2 separate regions of the Homo sapiens genome follow, and region 1 is linked to region 2. Evidence: promoter capture Hi-C in 16 types of primary human blood cells and fetal thymus (Javierre and others, 2016). All regions are on one chromosome and are shown on one strand. The core of a region is centred on a gene start or on the middle of the fragment in contact, and the rest is flanking DNA. Distances in the headings are between cores, read along the strand shown.

Region 1 (4,246 bases), core at 1,071-3,570, 560 kb before region 2:
AAGATTTCAGATTACCCACCAGGATATAACTTGGGTGCACATCTCTCACTGTTCTCATTTAGCCCAAAATCCACAGCAGCATGAAAATATGCAAACAGAGAACAGTATGCTGGTGTCATTTAGATGCACAAACTTTGATATCACACATACAGTGACATCTAAGGAATCATCACCGCACTAACATTCAATTTCCTTACCTATAAGATGGAGGTCATAGATAAACACATCTCAGACTTTGGAGCGAGATTGAGAGTATGTATGTATAGCACTTTGTGTAGTAGCTAGCATGCAGTAAGTACAATTACTCTTGGAAATTATTTTTATTTTCTAAAGAAATAGTAGCTATGGCTTCACAAACAAACCATTTAAGGATTCTTTAATAGCCCTATGAGACTAGAGCATGAAGTTTGAAAGGAGTGGCTGTGAAGAAAGAGGCCAGATAAAGATTACACAGCGAAGTTCCATTAATGCCCCCCAAAGGAATTCCAACTTGATACAAATGTAATGAGGAAAGCCCAGCTAACATGACTATGTGCTTTGGAAAGTTAAATCTAGAGACAATAGGAAGAAGATATGGAGCAGGTAACCAATCAGGAGGCCTTTCACTGAGGGAACAGTTTCTGCTATGAAAGCAGTAGGCCGGTTTTATAATTTGTGGGTCATTTTGAATATTGTCACGGTTATTTATTATGTAACTTTAATATGCATTTTAAGAGTTTCTGCAATAATTCACATGATTTTTTATGTTAAAATAATGATAAAAGTTTTTTCAAAAAAAAAAAAAAATGCCAGCATGAAGATGCCATTTTGGAGAGATGTATTATTCTAAATACAAAGTCTATTTTGGGCCAGGCATGGTGGCTCATGCCTGTAATCCCTACACTTTGGGAGGTGGAGGCAGGCAGATCACCTGAGGTCAGGAGTTTGAGACCAGCCTGGCCAATGTGGTGAAACCCCATCTCTACTAAAATACAAAAATTAGCCGGGCATGGTGGTGGGCACCTGTAATCCCAGCTACTTGGGAGGCTGAGGCAGGTGAATTTCTTGAACCTGGAAGGTGGAGGTTGCAGTGAGTCAAGATCAGGCCATTGCACTCCAGCCTGGGCGACAAGAGCAAAACTCCATCTCAAAAAAAAAAAAAAAAAGTATATTTTGAAGCTGACTTGCTATAAGCATTCTATGCTATAAAGCGAGATATACAGGCATTTAGATAGTTAAAGCAACAAGAAAATAAAAGTATTTTCTTTTGTGCATCTCAGGTCAGTGTACTTTTCAATATCACCTCAATATTTTCTCTTTTCCCCATGGGAAGATGTCTGAATACACTTTGGTGGTATTCATACATTCATACATGTTTCAAAGTGAAACAATTTCCTTGTGAAAATTTCAAATCATGAATTTGGATGGATAACTTTAAAATATGAAAGGTGAAAGGAATGAAAATATATTAATATACATTTTTATAATAGTAATGTTAGAAACATAACTTTTGGTTTTGATCTCATTCAGAATATAACTGACAAGAGGTAGATGATAAGGTAGATATTTACTAGTTGTGCTCTAAAAGTGAAAATGTCATATCTAATTGAATATCTTAAGCATAGATTATGTTTCACATGAAGAACAAAACCACAAAGGCCTAACTTGAAGGCAAACATTGTACTTTTGTGCCCTCCAGTGGCCATCTGGAGAATATACTCATCCTCATAGAATTGTTCAAGAAACATAAAGTGGCTAAGGAGACAATGGCAAAGGAAACAAGCAAACTGTACACCCAGAGACCCTGAGGCTATTACTTTCTCATAAATTTACTGAAGTAAGAAGAGAGCTAGCAGACTTGGGAGATTCTTCAGACTGCTTCCAAGAATGCAAAGGAGCTATTGGTTTGGACTACAGATGGTTCTTTTGATCATTCTTGAATATACTCTTCTTAGACACTTCTTAAACAAGGATTGCCAAGCACAGCATGGAAGCTTAAATTTTCATTTCAATCAAAAAAATTATGCATGGAACACAAGTGACACTAAGCTTCTCACTCTGGGAGAGGTATCACTTCAGTCAACAGGCTCCTGGGCTGGGGATCTTTTGGGAAACCAGCAGATAGCTACCGGAATGCCAGGGAAATAATTGCACATGGATTTTGCAAGAGACTCAAAATCAAATCACACTGGCAGAGCAAAGAGTTTTGACAATAAGACTTTAATTGAATAGTCAGAGTTAGATGGAACATCCAAAATAGAAAAATACCTGTTTATTAAAATGGACATTACCTATTTTCTCATCTTTACCTTTTAGTATTAGCTTAGCCCCAGAATTAGATGCAGTTAATACAGCCAGGTCTGCAGAGCATTGTAGATAGATTTTGATTCCTATTTTAAATGTGGCTGGAATTTCTGATGCCATTTCTTGCATGGTCCTAGAGGGAATAGAGCCTTTGGTTTTTATACAGTCATAGGTTTTGGTGCGGTTTTTTAAGATCAGTTTGTTATCTTTTTCTGAGAATTAAATGGATCAAAATGTCTCTAAATTTTAAAAATAAGTTTTGTTTAAACCCAGTGACTGCTTAACTATTTGCATAATACTTCTGAAAACTTTTTAGTTTTTCACAAATGGAAGCTTTCTTTTACTAGGCAGACAATTCTGTTTAATAAGTGAGTTCAGCTCCTGCACCACCGTGAATTTAATAGCCTGGAGATCCTGTTTCACTTTCTGAGAGAACAGATCCTATAAATTGCATTCTATGTGCCATTCCACTTCCTGTCTGATGGTGATGCGGAAAAACAGCTGTTGTGTGGGAACTGTTCAGAGCTGTGTTTCTCAAACCACAGGTCATGGAAGGGTGGTTAAGTAGGCCCTGTTTCCCTTTCTTCCAAAATAGCACCCAAGGCTCTTCTGACCTTGCCTCCTTCCACCTCTTAGTTGTAAGCCTACTAAGGAGTAAGTTTATCCTACTTCCTTTTGTTGTGTTTATTTTTAATTGGGGAGGAATAAGTACATATCCTGGGAGAGGCTAGAGTTATCCTGAGAGATGTGCGGGGTAAATATACATATACACACACACGTACACATTTATATATCTATCTATCTATATATATATATACACATATACACACACACACACTTATATATGTATAAGTAGAGTTCTCTCTTTTTTAGATTAGTGTCAAATGAATCTCATAGTCTAGGAACTAAAGCAAACCACATCACTCTAATTTTAGTACACCCTACCGTCAAACAATATTTTCACCCTGTCTTCAAATGGTACATAGAGAGATTTAGATTTAATTATTCAATATGGAATAATAGAAACTACAAGCAAGCATTAACCCAGGTTTACAGTTACTCAAATAGCAAGGATTAAACAATATACAATGGGTTGACAAATGTGCTGTCTCCTACTGGATAGGAGACAATGGAAACAAGTTTCATTGGTGGCTTGGGCAACTGATGCAAATGTACTAGCTGGGAGATAAATCAGACCTCAGCCCTGTTGGTAGTATAGACATCATCACAAAGGATATTTTAATAATGACACTGTGGCTAGCCTTTCTTTTCCTTCCTCCGTTACTCTCTACTTATAATTTGCATAATAAATGAAACTCCTATTTTATCTCTCATTCCAATGGCTTCTCTTAGGAAATTAATGGTTTAGAAAAATAGCTTACAGCTGGGAGCCGTGGCTCACACCTGTAATCTCAGCACTTTGGGAGGCCGAGGCAGGTGGTTCACAAGGTCAGGAGTTCAAGACCAGCCTGACCAACATGGTGAAACCCTGTCTCTACTAAAAATACAAAAATTAGCTGGGCGTGGTGGCACACGTCTGTAATCCCAGCTACTCAGGAGGCTGAGGCAGGAAAATCACCTGAACCTGGGAGGCAGAGGTTACAGTGAGCCTAGATCACCCACTGCACGCTAGCCTGGGTGACAAAGCGAGACTCCATCTCAAAAAAAAAAAAAAAAGAAAAATAGGTTACAGTTTTTTTTTTGGTTTTGGGGGAGTGGGTAAAAACAGAATGAACTAAGGCGTCTTAACAGCTGACATCCATCAAAGGGGCTGCTCTTTTGCCTGGCATTGAGGTAGCAAGCACAAGGCCATATAGAGAGACAGAATCCAAGAAATTCTCATAAAAAGCAATTAGATGACAACAGAAGGGACAAGCAGAAATTATTAAATGTTTTTAGGCTTCTGGTTAAAAAAGATATTTTAAAACCTTATCAAGTATGACCCAATTTCTTTTTGATTCAA
Region 2 (3,756 bases), core at 1-2,500:
TGCAGGGCAGGTCTTTTGGGCATCCTCACAGGTCACAGTTTCTGAGTAAGACGCTGCCACCATACTCAGGAGAAGGAGAGGGAGTGATGGAAACAGGGACATGGTCCTCACCTTGGTGTGAGAAAACTCAGGGAAGGTTAATCTCAGTTAATGAACACATATTTACCGAGCATGCCCTCTGTCCTACAATCTGGGTGCAGGCTATATAGAAATAGATGACCCATCCCTGGCCTCTAGCTGGGGATTTGGAAAAGTAAACATTCCTTGTGACACTGCGTGACTAGTACTTTAACAAAGGTAGGCACTATGATGAGCAGTGGGGATCCTAAGGAGGGGTTCATCTGTGCCTAGACACCTGGCGTTGCTGCTGGAAGACTATAAACATGCTTTCGGTGGCAGTGAGAACAAATGGGACCGTGCATTGCCAGCTGGCTTATGCCTGTTAGCTTAGGGAATGAGAATGAGTGGAAACCCAGGTGTCTGTAGGAGCTTCCTCTTTCTCTCCATGTCCTCTTCGGGTCCATCTGCCACCTGAATCCCATCTTTGTATCTGGGCAGCTGATTCCCCTCCAGGACCTGTTAACTATCATTTACTCATTGGCAGGCCCTGAGCTGAAAGCTGGTGATCCAAAGAGGAAGGTCTCAACCTCAGATCAACCTCAACCTTAGTCACCAACCCAGCCCAGAATTAACTGGAGTTTGCTTCCCCTTGGTGTTTTAGACAGGCTTGCCTGGGTAAGCATTTTCTCTGGAAATTTCTTACTACGTTGGCCCTGGCAGAGTGCTAAATACCTCTCTACTTTCTGGCAGGAATTCCCCATGTTCTGTGAGTCAAAAACCACTGGCAATTAGAAAACTTGCCTTGAATCCTCCTCCCATTTCTCAGTATTAACCTTTCATTTGTTCTTCAGAGCTTTCTTCCAGCTATTGCCCCCTAAGAAACCTCAGCAGCCTAGCCCCATAGGTCTAAGCCTCCAAGTTTCCCTTTGAAAACAAAGACAGTCTCCACTGCAGATGAACAGATAATGGAGGAAAGTCACAGATGCTCCAGCACAAGCAGAAAAAGAGACATCCTCAACCTGATTTCTGCTTTCCATCCCACTCCCCCCACCCCTAGAAAGCCTCCTCCATGCCTCCAGGGTCATGTCAGCTCCCCAAACCCTTGATCCGGAAACCCAGATTTATTCACCAGAAATGACTTACTGGTGTTTCTGCAGAGCAGGGACTCAGTGACAAGGACGCTGGCCCTCTAGCCTGGGGCTCTGGCAGATGCCTCAGAGTGAGGGAGGAGGCTGGGCTCAGCAATGTAGGGCCCAATCAACCTTGTGAACAAGGATATCCTGGGCCTGGCCTTCAACTCCAGATTAATAAACAGCTCTTCTCAGAACTATGAGAAATTTAGGAGCCTCCAATACAGTGCTCGGCAGCTGTCTGCTTTAATACAGCACAATTCCTCTTTCAATTGCCATCCATTTTGGCAAATCTCATTGCTGAACTACCACAGCTAGGTTCACCTAGTTAGTCCTGTTGACATCCTTGTTTCCAACAGAAAAACAAAGATACTCACAAATGCATACACATGCTCATGCACACCAACTATACACACAGACACGTGCATGCACGCACACACCCATCCATGAAACCACATAGACCTCTTGCTGCCATTAATGCATTAAGGCCATTCCTGCCTCAGACTCTTCATTTGATGTCTCCATGCCTGGACCCCTTACGGGCATCGCCAGCTAGCTCTTTCTCTTCTATTCAAATATTCCAATTTCAGAGAAATCAGTACCTTGATCACTTATTCTAAAATAGTCCTACCTAGCAGTCTCTATCCTCTTAGCCTGAATTATTTTCTCTCATGTTACTTACACTTTATGATATTATAGTCATTGACTTTACTTTTCCAGTTTTTCATTGTGGTAAAATAGACATAAAATTTACCATTTTGACCATTATTATTAAGCACACAACTCAGTAGCATTAAGTACATTCACACGGTTGTGCTATCATCACCACATCATGGGATGATTTTCATCATCCCAAACTGAAACTCTCAACTCATTAAACTAGAATTCTCCATTTACCCCTACCCACAGCCACTGGTAACTTCTGTTTTACTTTCTGTCTCTCTGAATTCATCTATCCTAGGTACCTCATATATGTGAAATCATACAATAGCCCCCTTGTATCTGGCTTATTTCACTTAGCACAATGTCTTCAAATTTCATCCTCATAACAAGAATTGTAAACTGTGTTAAAGACTTTGGGTTTCCTTCCAGGGGGCACTAGAGGGACTGCAGTAGTGGAGAGGTGATCACATTTGAATTTTGCAAGGCTTGTTCTGGCTATGATGTTGAGGGGAACAGGACTGGAGAAAAGCAGATCTAAAAGGAAGTGCTTGCCATGATCTAAGCAGCAGAAGACAGTGGCCTGGGTCAGGGTAATGGCAGCTAGATTAAGAAGGTAGGCACACTTGAGAAACAGGAGGTATTGATTGCACTTGAGAATTAGCTAGAATAGTGAGTGATAATAAGAAGTTTTCATGGGCACACACATTTATGACTTGACTATCTAGGAGCCACTCAACTGAGATAAGAAGCAAAAGAACAGCACTTGGCACTATAAGATCATGGGTATCGTGTGTGTTAATGGCTTGAACCATCTTGCTGTGGTTAATGGGGACAATCTAGAAGGGATGGAAGAATACTTTTACGAACATAGTTCATTTGATTCTCAACTACATTACTGATATGGCTTTCAGAAAAATGCCATGTAGCTTGGGGTGTTGGGGAGCCCATCCTGAGAAGTTCAGAGGCTGCGGGGCCATGTGGTGGGGGTACTATGGAGGCCTCCAAACACCAAAAGAAATGTGAGTAAGATGCATTTCCAGGTCCCTTCCAATTGAAGTCTTCTTGGCTTGTGGAGGGACTGGCTTCCTTACTTCCTGCTGACCTGTCTGCTGTGCCTGGAAAAATGTCCAGGATGGTACAGAGCCACATGCCTAAAGCCATCAGTGGATATCAGGAGATCCAGGGCCTAAAGAAGACAGGGCCTGAGAAGACTTGTTTCCCTTCTTATTCTTTAGCAGCCAGAGCTTCCCCCTGCTCCTGCTCCAGTGGCAGAAGGTGAGGTGAGGTAGTTGACTCCAGGTCACTGGCGGTGCTGGCTTTAATCACAGTGCTTGCTTTCATTGTTTACCTAGTCCAGAGGTCAGGAAACTGCTCTCCAGACCCTGAAATTTCCTAGAACTGGGTTCAGAGGGTGTGGGTATCTGGGGGAAAGTCAATCTAGCAATTGATCCGGAGATTGGAGTGTCACCCAGTTACATCCTGCTCTCCAGAAGGCCTTTCCCAAAAGGAGAGGCCACTCTCCACATGCCGCAGCCTGAATGTCTCTCTCCACACGAATGCCCACTCTGCACTCCACCCCATAGATAAGGCCACTGTGTGCATTTGTTCTGGACTTTAAAACCCTTCCCAGCCAGGCGTGGTGGCTCACTCCTGTAATCCCAGCACCTTGGGAGGCCGAGGCGGGCGGATCATGAGGTCAGGAGATTGAGACCATCCTGGCTAACACAGTGAAACCCCATCTCTACTAAAAAATACAAAAAAAAAAAAAACAACAAACTAGCCGGGCGTGGTGGCGGGTGCCTGTAATCCCAGCTACCCAGGAGGCTGAGGCAGGAGAATGGAGTGAGCCCGGGAGGCGGAGCTTGCAGTGAGCTGAGATTGCACCACTGCGCTCCAGCCTGGG

Evidence for each region. Contacts are between HindIII fragments. The CHiCAGO score rates a contact against its expected background, and 5 or more counts as called.
Region 1: a contact is called between a fragment that was not itself captured here and the fragment with the promoter of MBL2 in region 2, in 2 of 17 cell types (fetal thymus and megakaryocytes). The highest score is 6.1, in fetal thymus.

What each region holds. Positions count from the first base shown.
Region 1 is chr10:52,214,267-52,218,512 of GRCh38, forward strand. The region is part of intron 9 of PRKG1 (protein kinase cGMP-dependent 1); the gene reads left to right. All of the region lies in intron 1 of LOC124902425 (a long non-coding RNA gene), which reads right to left. Among named protein-coding and RNA genes, the nearest start is that of PRKG1-AS1, 98 kb to the right of the region's middle. The HindIII fragment of the contact is 588 bases long and covers 2,027-2,614 here.
Region 2 is chr10:52,771,534-52,775,289 of GRCh38, forward strand. It overlaps MBL2 (mannose binding lectin 2), which reads right to left and starts at 1,251. Exons shown (of 5, transcript NM_001378373.1): 1 at 1,204-1,251; 2 at 1-111. The coding sequence starts at 102. The HindIII fragment of the contact is 7,250 bases long and covers 1-3,756 here.